2 separate regions of the Homo sapiens genome follow, and region 1 is linked to region 2. Evidence: promoter capture Hi-C in human tissues and cell types (Jung and others, 2019). All regions are on one chromosome and are shown on one strand. The core of a region is centred on a gene start or on the middle of the fragment in contact, and the rest is flanking DNA. Distances in the headings are between cores, read along the strand shown.

Region 1 (5,685 bases), core at 2,592-5,091, 100 kb before region 2:
CATCACTTGAGCCTAGGAATTTATACCAGCCTCGGCAACATGGCAAAACCCTGTTTCTAGAAAAAATACAAAAATAAGCTGGGTGTGGTGGTGCACACCTGTAGTCCCAGCTACTCTGGAAGCTGAGGTGAGAGGATGGCTTCAGCCCAAAAGGTGGAGGCTGCAGTGAGCCGGGATCACGCCACTGCACTGCAGCGTGGGTGACAGAGGAGTGAGATTCTGTCTCAAACAAAACAAAACAAAAACTGGAGATAGACCCATCCAACGAGAAACCTCCTAGATAGTAGGAAACCAGAAAGAATTCTGAGACAGTGGTTAGAGCACCTGCTTAGACATTTATTTACTATTATGATTCTAAGCAAGTCAACTGAACATGTCGGTAAATACTGAAATACTTCTACTGACATTACTATATGAAACTTTGTTTTTTGTTCTTTTGTTGTTTGCTACATAAAACTTTGATAAACTTTGTTTAACTTTATCTGGCCATCCTCCATCTCCCTCCAGGTGAAGCTTCTGTTTTTTAGGAAACCACTCCCCCAACTCTTGGTCAAATTTCATGTGAAGATGACCCCAACCACCCCTGGATGTAGCAGTGGTCAGATGATCCAGTATTGGAAAATCCACATATTCAATAGATCCCCAAAGAAATTGGTCCAGCAATGGGGACAGGACCCAAGCAAACCTAATGACTTTATTCTGTGATGCCTCTTTGACCACTTGGAAAAGAGAAGTCCTCTTTCCTAGGGTATTGCTAGCCATAGGAAGGGTATAAGCCTGAAGATACAGTGGCCAATCCGATAATTATGTCACTATAAAGGAAAGCAGTAATGGGCCATGTGGAAAGAGGATGAGGACCCATGAAGATGTTGTTTGAACTGAATCTAGCCATGCCTATTATGTGAGTTAATAAATTCCTTTTTGTTTAACTCTATTTAAGTTGGAGAACTTATACATGAAAGAATTCTAATGCCATCAACAAGTTATGTCAGCTTTAGCTTCAGATTTTATCCCAATCAAATCCGTTACTCATCCGCTCTGCTGTTTCCATCCAAATCCAAGCCAGTATAATGTGTCCACATGTTGTAGTTTCCAAAGAGTAGCTTGTAGCCTTTTTTTTTTGCTAGATTTTTTTAATTTTTTTTCTTTTTAAAATTCTCAATTAAAAATAATGTATAATTTACAAAAAATTTGAAAAATCAGTACAAAGGTTTCCTGCTTACCCTTTACCCAGCTTCTCCAAATATTAACCTCCTAATCCATCGCAGATGATGTGTTAATTCCATGAAGTTAATACTGATACAATACTGTTAATTAACCTACAGGCTTTAATCAAGCGTCACCAACTGTTGCACTAACATTCTGTTCCTGGACAAGGTTCCAATCCAGGATCACAAGTTAATATAGTTGTCTTGTCTCCTTGAGCCTAACTTAATCTGGGACCATTCCTCAGTCTTCATGATTTTGTGGCTCTGAGAGTTTTGAAGAGGCTATGTCAGTTATTTTACAAAATTTCCCTCAATTTAGGTTTGTCTGATGTTTCTTCAAGATTAAGTTCAGGTCATATATTGTTGGCAAGAAAGGCACAGAGGTGACATTGTGTCCTTCTCGGCACATTATATCAGGAGGTACATGGTGTTGCAGAGCAGGGGTCAGCATATTTTTCTGTAAAAGACCAGATAGTAACTATTTCAGAGTTGGGACAACACATGCCATCTCTGTGGCATATTTTTCTTTGTGTTTGTCCCGGTGCATTTATAACGTTTTAAAAGTGTAAAATGTATTCTTAGTTCCTGGTACACAGAAGTGGACTGAAGGCTGGATTTGGCCCATAGGCCAAAGGACCCCAGCTGTAGAGGAAACCTTGGAAAACATAAGCTGTAAGGGCATGCCTCTGCTTCAACTCCTCTTCCCCCACATTTGTTTTTTTACTTCATTTAGTAAAAGCTTGAGTCCTGTATTAGTTCTCTGCAGAAACAGAACCATGGAATGAAAAGCATGTGCGTGTGTGTGTGTGTGTGTGTCTGTGTGTACAGAGAGAGAGAGACAAAGAAAGAGTGAGAGAGATCTACTTTGAGGAATTGGCTCACTTGATTATGGAGGCTGGCAAGTCTAAAATCTGTAAGGTGGGCTATTAGGCTGGAAACCCAGGGAAGAACTGATGTTGCAGTTGAAGTCAAAGGTTGTCTGCTGGCTGAATTTCCTCTTGCTCTGGTGAGATCAATATTTTGTTCTTTTCAGACTTTCAATGGATTCAATGAAGTCCATCCACAATATGGAGGCTAATCTGCTTTTCTCCAAGTCCACCATTTAAATGTCAAGCTCACTCAGAAATACCCTCACAGAAACATTGAGCATAATGTTTGATGGAATATCTGTGTGCTGTCGCTCAGCCAAGCTGACAAATAAATGTAACTATCATCAGTTCTTACCAAAGCTTGTAGGGCCCTTCGTGATCCAGTCCCAGTAACTTCTCCAACCTTCCTTTCACACTCTCCTACTTGATAACTGTGCTAGGTCTAGACCAGTACTTCTCAGACTCTCCTGTGCCTCAGGCTCACCTGCAGGGCTTTTGAAAACAGATTTCTGGACCCTATACCCAGAGTTTCTGATTCAGTAGGTCTAGGGTGGCGCCTAAGAATTTGCACTTCCAAAAATTTCTCAAGTGATGCTGATGCTGCTATCCTATGGTTCACACTTTGAGAATCACTGTTGTAGATATGTTCTTCTTCTTTCTCAACAAACAAAAACAAACAAAGCACTCTTTCAGCCCAGAGCCTTTGTCTGGATGTTCCTTCTGCCATGAAGAATCTTTCCCTAGATAGTTGCAGAAAGTTCGATATTGGTAAATGGTTAATGACTGACTCTAAACAAACAAACAAACAAACAAAAGCCTCTTTCACAGCATTTGCTGGTTTCTAGTGTGTAATTCCTCCTACCTGATTTTGAGATACCAATATGATGCCCCTGAATGTGGAGTTGGGAAGAGATGTTTTCCACTGGTTCTTGAGGTCCAGTGTGAGCTGGCTCAGCACACCACTGTTTGAGTGACACTTTCAAGTCTCTGCTCAATGCAACCTCCCCTGAGAGGCTTCCCTGACCATCTGATAAAACAGCACAACTGTCCGCCAACCCTTCTATTTCTTTTTATTTTAGTTCATTGCATTTATTTCTACCTACTGTAGGTTTCTTCCCCTACTAAGTAGTAAACTCCAAGAAAGCAACATTTTTTTTTTTTTGTCTAATTCCATGCTGTATTGTGACCTCAGTGCCTAGGTGGCAGTAACTATTTGGTTCAATGAATGAATGAATAAATTTGTCTATGTATTTGGTGTCAGTCTCCCATATTAACCCACTGGTAATTCCACTAGGGTGAGGGTTTTGTCTAATTTTCTTCACCATTGCATCTTCATCCCTGACACACAACAAGTAAGGAAGGCATAATTTTTGAATATTTTATTTCTTAGAAATGGAGTCTAACTACACTTCCCAGGCTGAACTTGAACTCCTGGGCTCATTTAATTCATCAAGTTGTGAGAATAACAAAGAAAGTGGGAAATTATGATACAAACGTATAAAGAGCTTTACACCTATCCAGCCTCTAAACATGTGGAAGGAAAATGTCTAGCTCTGTGATGGAGGGAGCAGAGACAAGGAAGATCTTGGGACACCTCTCCCATTTTAATAATCCTATTTGCCAGTGGGAAGAAGCAAACACTTTAAGTGGAATCTGTCTCAGGGTCTGCTGGTAGGAGAACCCAAACTGAGGCACAGGGCTATGGGGTTATGATTACTTTTCTTGGTTGCTACTCTTCAGTTTACAGTTGAAGAAGCTACAACCTTCACACAAGTTATGAGAGCACAAGATTGACAAGGCTACCTTCCTCCAAAGAAGTGTTTGCAGCAGCTATTTGGAGGGAGCTCCAATCCAAGAAGCCAGAACTTAGCAAAACATTCTAAGGATCAAGAGCAAATACCCTGTTACAGAAGTAACCCTTTTATAAGTTGGCTTGTCAGACCATGTCCCTGAAAAGGCAAAACTATTCAGGGAACCTGGTGAGTGTCAGCCCGAGAAATATGGGCAGCTCATCTACATATCTTTTAGTGACCTTCTGGAATGACAGCCAAGCCACCAACGCTTCCCTGTTTGCAAATGATAGAGATCTCATTTCTGGGGACGACAGGATTGATGTGGCAGCCGCAGTGCCATTAGACCTGGAAGATGCTCTTTTCTCATTACTGTCTCCTGGCAACATAGCACCAGATGCCGCCGTGAATATTAATGATCCTCATTCATGTAACCTTTAGTGCCTTCCTTCAAATCACCCAGGCTGCAGCCGGGGACTGCTGCTATCTGTTTCTGCTGTTTCCATCTCAACAAATCTCTTCTTCTCCTCCTGTTTGAGAAAAGAATTATTAATGAGATTTTTATCTAAGGAGAGGGTTTCTGCCTCTTGATGGAGATGCTCACTTTCCAAGCCATACCCATATTTGCTAACAAAGATAACGGCATCCCCATTCTGCTGGAGCTTGTGACGAATCACTTTCATTGACTTTATCTGCTGGATGGAATATGTAATTTGTCTAATATCTTTGCATCTTCAAATGCAGGGCTTAAAACTAAACATGGAATTGGGCAAAAGCGGAAATTAAATATGACCAGACTCTCAGTGGGGTTCATGCTCTTTATCAGCTTTCACCAACTGCAGGGCTGGCATCATGCATGTAACGATGGGTCACCCCAGACTCTGTCTAACTCGAGTTCCTTGGCTTCTCACACAAAGGCCTACCCTTGGAAAGGCAAGGAATATCAAATTGCTTCCACCCGGGCTGCCTAACTCCTTTAGCCCTTTGCTTTGTTTCTTTGGATCTCTGAGATATTGGCCAGAGGTTCTTCCTGAGGGTAATTTAAGGCACTTCAGATAGTAGAATATCCCCACTTTTCCCTCTGTTTCTTCCCTTCCTCTGGTATTTTGTGATAGGTATAATTAGTGGTTTCAGAATACAAACTTTAGAGGGAGCCAGGTGCATGCATGAATCCTGGCTCTGGGATCCTGAGCCTGTTCCTCAAACTCACTGAACCTCGGTTTCATATCTGTAAAGTGCGAATAAAGGCACCTAATGCACCCGGTTTTTCAACACATTAAGTGATATAACATATGTGAAATGCTTAGTCCAGTGTCTGGTATATAGTTAGGACTTTAAAAATGGTTGCCTGGTGTGGTAGATTGTTTTATCAATGGCCCTTGATGAAACAGTCTTCCTGGTATGGGGCATGACTCACCTTGACTTTATTTTTTTTTTAATTTTTAATTTTTTTTGAGACAGAGTCTCGCTCTGTCGCCCAGGTTGGAATGCAGTGGCACGATCTCGGCTAACTGTAGCCTCCACCTCCCGGGTTCAAGCGATTCCCCTGCCTCGAACTCCTGACCTCAGGTGATCCACCCACTTCGGCTTCCCGAAGTGCTAGGATTATAGGAGTGAGCCACCACGCCTGACCTCATCTTGATCAGATCCTTAAGATAGTTGCTAAAGAAGATGTGCATGGTGCAAAGCATATTTATACACTGTTCTTAGGGGAACAGTGTTCTACTCAGATGGAACCCTATGTTGGCCTCTTGATACTTGTTAGCTTTTCTAATGTGCATTCAAGAAATCATTGAGCTGAGGAAATGAGTTTACGAA
Region 2 (5,890 bases), core at 1,585-4,084:
AAAAGCATCCTAGGTGGTAAGTTCGGAGCACCTGAAGCAGAAATGAGTTTAGTGTTTTCAAAAGTTAGAGAGAACTGGTATGGGAGGAACAGAGCGAGTGGAGGAGAGAGCAAAAGGTGAAATCCCAGAGGTAGAAGGGCCTGATCCTACAGGAGCTTGTAGGCCATGACAAGGAGGCTGCCTGCACTTGACCGAGCCCATGCTTAGATCCTAAAGGAGCCATGGCCTCCATTTAAGAACTCCAGACAGAGAATCTAATTTAGGAACTGAAGGGGAAAAATGTCATTTAGGGATTGAATGTTTGGAGAATACGTCTGAAAATCTAGAGGAACGAGTATGAAAACTGGGGCCAGAACCCTCACTGAACCCCCAGTGGCCCCAGTGTCTTTGGCATAACTGCCAGACACAGCTACTTGCTGAATTATTGCAAGTTCAAATTCCTATTTGCATGCAATTTTACCAAGAAGCCTCTAGCTTCTGTCCTGTGTCTGCCACTTTAGAATGCCAGAACACCACAAGCTTTCCCAGGCTGCACTCAGAAGGCTTGGTTATCTCATTACTTTATTTCTTCACCTTCAAATGTCCAATAATGGCTTCACGTTAGCATTAGCCTGATTTTCTAAGTTGTGATAGCTTGAATGTCACATTTTGCTTTTTGTTTTTAATCATTTTATCCTGCTTTTGGGGATCTGTATATGCTCCCCAATGGGGAGTTTTTGCAGTCCCCATTTCTTCAAGTGCCTCTTAAATGACAATTGTCTTTTAACTCTCCTATGCTGAGGGCTGGTTTGAGACTGGAACAGTCCATAAAACAGCTGCGCAATCAGGATTAAGAAGATTTAATCAATGCTTTAGTTTTCCCAGAAATTTAGACCTTTAGATTGATTACAGGGGAAAAATTGGAAAGGCATTCTGCTTTCAAAAATAATATCGAATTCAATCTTTCCTTGATGTGAAACAGGAAATAAATGATTTATTCTAATTTGTCAATTCCAAGTTGACAACAATGAATTGAAATAGCATTGAACCATGATCCCTCTGGTAACCTTTAGATAGGATGGTTCAAAATGACCACTTTAGGACAGGTGCGGTGGCTCATGCCTGTAATCCCAGCATTCTGGGAGGCTGAGGAGGGCGGATCACTTGAGGTCAGGAGTTTGAGACCAGGCTGGCCAATATGGTGAAACCCCGTCTCTACTAAAAATACAAAAATTAGCTGGGCATGGTGGTGCACACCTGCCAGCCCAGCTACTTGGGAGGCTGAGGCAGCAGAATTGCTTGAACCCTGGAGACAGAGGGTGCAGTGAGCCGAGATTGCACCAGTGCACTCCATCCTGGGTGACAGAGCAATACTCCATCTCGGAAAAAAAAAAAAAAAAAAAAAGCAACAAAAAACAAAAAGACCACTCTGGCATTTGCTGTGCCTCAGTTTCCTTGTCTATAATGAAGGTATGAATAAAACAGACTTTCCAATCAGGACCAGCTATATAAAAGATCCTCCCTTGAAAGTCACACACACATACACACACAGCCACACACACACACTCACACACAGCCACACATACCCACACCCATACCCACACCAAAACTCTTTTACATACACACACAGATGCACTCAAACCAATACAACTCTATCACACACACACATATACCCAAAACAAAAAACCTTTTTATTATATTTTGCCTTACCCATTTATCCCTTGGGAAATTGTATTGCACAAAATTATTTAGTAAGTTAAATTCTTGTCCCTCATTTTATGAGGTTACGACTTTGGGGTTGGGGGAGAAGGCACTGCTCCGAAGTCACATCATCAACCAAGGTGGAGAAGGCATCCTGAGAGGATCTCTATTCTAGAAGCAATGGATAAGAACAGGGGAAGGGCCACCTTATGGGAGAGATGCCAGCCTCAAACACCCTATAAAAAGCAGTAACTTACTGTCTGTCTCTTCTAATAGAAAGCAACACTTGGGGCCAAAATATTTTTTTTAAATTTACTGCTATATCTTTAGTGCCCAGAACTATACCTGGCACAGTAAGTGCTCAGTAAATATTTGCTGAATAGACGGAGCTAGGGACTGGCGGTTCCACTTTGGTGCCTCTAGGAGTGCTCCTCTCCCCATGGGAAACATGCTCAGAAGCAGGAAGTTCCAGGTAACATAAACTTGTAACTTCACTCTCTTCTCTTTGACCTGTCACCCTTGAGCATTTGAGACTGAATTGCAAAAGTCTTAGAGAGAAGAGGTAGGGGAAAGATTGACCTATTTTTCCCAACCCACCCATCTCTTTCCCCACTGGTAGGGTCTAAATGGGGCATCAATTAGTATGTTAGAATTCATCTCTAGCCTGGGACAGGCATGCCTTCTAAGAATCCTATCATGAAAGATTTGTAAGCATAAGAATCTTTCATTTATCTATTACGTAAATCCAGATTTATTAATTGAATTTGTTTAAATCAAATTATTTGTGCTATAGATCTCACATTTTCAACAAATTCCTACAACTAGTATGTCTTTGCTCATAAGCTGAAGGAAAATTAGGGGTGAATTAAAACTAAAAATGGTTTGAAATTCTCATAGTCCTCTCAGCAAAGCCCTACTGATTGATACAATAGACCACTGCTAAAGCGGCTTTAACAATAGTGGACCATTTTGGATATTATCTGTGTATAGAAAGACACAGAGTTTGACTCTGTTTGGAAAATCAGACGCTAAATAGCCCCTGAAGCCGAGCAGCCTGTTATGAAAACGGAGGGGTGGTAGGCCCTTCTAATTGGCCAGGGTATTTACCCAGAGCTCTGGCTTTCACATAAAAGGCAGGAACCACTGAAGTCAGTCCCCGCTTCCAGTCAGAGTTCAAGTTAAAACAGAAAAAAGGAAGATGGCAAGAATATTGTTACTTTTCCTCCCGGGTCTTGTGGCTGTATGTGCTGTGCATGGAATATTTATGGACCGTCTAGCTTCCAAGAAGCTCTGTGCAGATGATGAGTGTGTCTGTAAGGACTTTTTTATGCTTTTCATTATCTTTCTATTACATAATTGAAAATATATCCACTAATAGCATAAAATCGAATTATACTTTGAAGTGAATCTTCTCCAATGTGTATGTTATCAGCTTTGTTTCTTCTGGTCTGCATGTTTGGTATCTTACTACGGAGAATTCACTTGGCTGAGTTTTGTTGCAGCTTTAATATCTTGGCTGTCTTCTTTCTCTTGGATAGACACCAGCTATGAACTGGGAATTATCAGTCACTCTGATTTTCTAGTTTTTCTAATATACATTGCCTTTTACTGTTATAAAATTCAGGAGCCTAAAATGTAATCATTTAAATTTTTTTTCTTCCAGATACTATTTCTCTGGCTAGTGCTCAAGAAGATTATAATGCCCCGGACTGTAGATTCATTAACGTTAAAAAAGGGCAGCAGATCTATGTGTACTCAAAGCTGGTAAAAGAAAATGGAGCTGGAGAATTTTGGGCTGGCAGTGTAAGATAATTTAAACACCTATTGACGAATATTGCTCTTAACCTTTCCTTGATTACCTACCTTCAACCTATTTTAATGCTTAATACTAGTTGTTAAGAACCATGTAGTGATTGTAGATGGAAATGCAAAAATTCAGGTATATTTGCTATTGCATTTTAAAGAAAGAAAGATCAATTTCGTAACAAAACCAAATGTAGGTTAATGTGATATTTTGGTAAAAAAAGAGTCAAATACATGGGGGCTTAAACATCCCAAAGAATTTGAATCTTATCCGAAAACGTCTGAGAAGATTTGCCAAGTAGAAGGCATGTGTGTTGGCAGTGAGTCTAAGTATCAATATTCTTTTAGGAAACTTTGCACCCTAATTAATTCGAAAGAATCAGCGTTCTTCAGTTAAAATATACAGGGGCGGTCCCTGGGGAGGGATGAAGCAGGGATGATTTTCTGTCCTCATCTGCAACCCTAAAGGTAAGTTCTAAATTAATGAAGGATTAAATTTAAAGCCATTTAAGTCTGTTCATTTGAATTGTTGAAAACTGAGAAATTTGCATCATTTAAAATAAGTGTCTACAGTACTTTAAAAAAATGTACTGTCTTTATATATTTATTTATGGGTTCAAAAAAGATTTCAGGCAACTCACAAGATTGCGTAAAATAAAGTCATGCTAAAGTAGCGAAATAAGACTGGGCCACTAAACAGTAGATGCACAATTCCTGCGGGTTAACTTAGTGCTCCAAGTAAACTTCGGATTTGCCGCAGCGCCCCCTGGACCCCGGAGTGAAAGGGAGGTATTGGCAGCTATGATTCTCACTATCAGCAAAGAGGACGCCTGCGAGTTTCTCAGAAGACACTCAGCATCAGCTTTTTCCTGATTGCTATTCTTCTGGGCACTTAGGTTTATGGTGATGGCCAGGACGAGATGGGAGTCGTGGGTTATTTCCCCAGGAACTTGGTCAAGGAACAGCGTGTGTACCAGGAAGCTACCAAGGAAGTTCCCACCACGGTAAGCATCTCAAAAGTGACTAGACAAGGACTCAGATCTTGGGGCAATGTAGGCCGGTGTTAAAAATGCATCATGCAACTTACAAGTTGTATAGAACAAAGCCTCCAACTTTCAGTGGCGACTTTTCTGAGATAATGAGGTTTGGGGGACCATTTATAACTACTGTCAAAGTTGAAAGATGAGTAAACTTTCTCTATACCACCCCCTTTTGTTTTATTTCAGTTTACTACTTTTTGTCTCATCTTTTTTCTATATTTTTTCAGCTTTATTGGGTTATAATTGACAAATAAAAATTGCATACATTTAATGCATACATTATGTTTTGATATACATTGTGAAATGATCATCACATTCAAGCTAGTTAACACATACATCACCTCACATAGTTACCTTTGTGTGTGTGTGTGTGTGTGTGTGTGAAAACATTAAGATCTGCCCTCTTAGTAAATTTCAAGTATACAATACAGTACCTCTTTTGTTTTAGATGCAAGTTGTCTTGCAAAGCAGTCTATGTAACAAATAAAGAAACCAAAGTCAGCACTGACTCTTACAGATGGTTTTCACTAAAGATAGGCTGAAAAAAAATTATTATGTTTTTGATCAAATCGAAATATTCTAGAACAATCTTTGAATGTCTTATTTTTGTGGTAAATAGATTCTATTTATGTATGAAATAAAGTTATACTCTTCCTAATGCCCTGGGGTCCTGTAAACTCAGGACAGAAATAAAAGATGCTTTCTGAGCTACTTTGCAAGGTGCTTGTTTTGAAGTGATTCTTCTGGAGCTAATTGTTGTGCTTCAAACACTGCTCATCCTACACAAATGGGACTCACTTGTCATCACTTCTTAGCATTATGCTGAAATCTGTCAGATAACTGCAAATTAAAGGTTCATTTTAGGACCTTCATTGTAAGTAGTTTTTGACTTAAAGTGGTAAATATTTCATATTTTTTGGGGGTCAACCTTTACTTACTTTAAATCCAAATTTCTCTGATTAGATATGACTTTAAATACAGAATCTACATCTGTTTTTTTAGCCTAGGCTATTTCGTTCAATCTTTTTTTGTTTTTGTTTTTTTCCAGGATATTGACTTCTTCTGCGAGTAATAAATTAGTTAAAACTGCAAATAGAAAGAAAACACCAAAAATAAAGAAAAGAGCAAAAGTGGCCAAAAAATGCATGTCTGTAATTTTGGACTGACGTTTTAAGAATTTGTTACCTTACAGAAGAGCAAGGGCTTAGGGGTTGGAGGTGGCAGATAAAAGAGGATTTTCAACTCAAATCTTGTTTCCTGCTGGCCTGGTCTGCCCACGAGCTAGAGCGGGGAAATGTTGAGCTCAAATGGGTAAATTGAGACCAGAAAATTATTTTTTCAACCTAGAGAATCTCCTCTTACAGGGG

Evidence for each region. Contacts are between HindIII fragments. The study calls those that stand out against the background at their distance.
Region 1: a fragment that was not itself captured here is called in contact with the fragment with the promoter of OTOR in region 2 in 2 of the 25 tissues and cell types used here (H1 embryonic stem cells and IMR-90 fibroblasts).

The regions. Positions count from the first base shown.
Region 1 is chr20:16,643,828-16,649,512 of GRCh38, forward strand. No RefSeq gene overlaps it. Among named protein-coding and RNA genes, the nearest start is that of KIF16B, 73 kb to the left of the region's middle. The HindIII fragment of the contact is 5,222 bases long and covers 1,231-5,685 here.
Region 2 is chr20:16,745,524-16,751,413 of GRCh38, forward strand. It overlaps OTOR (otoraplin), which reads left to right and starts at 2,835. Exons shown (of 4, transcript NM_020157.4): 1 at 2,835-2,993; 2 at 3,344-3,483; 3 at 4,380-4,487; 4 at 5,572-5,890. The coding sequence starts at 2,879. The coding sequence ends at 5,595. The HindIII fragment of the contact is 9,309 bases long and covers 1-5,890 here.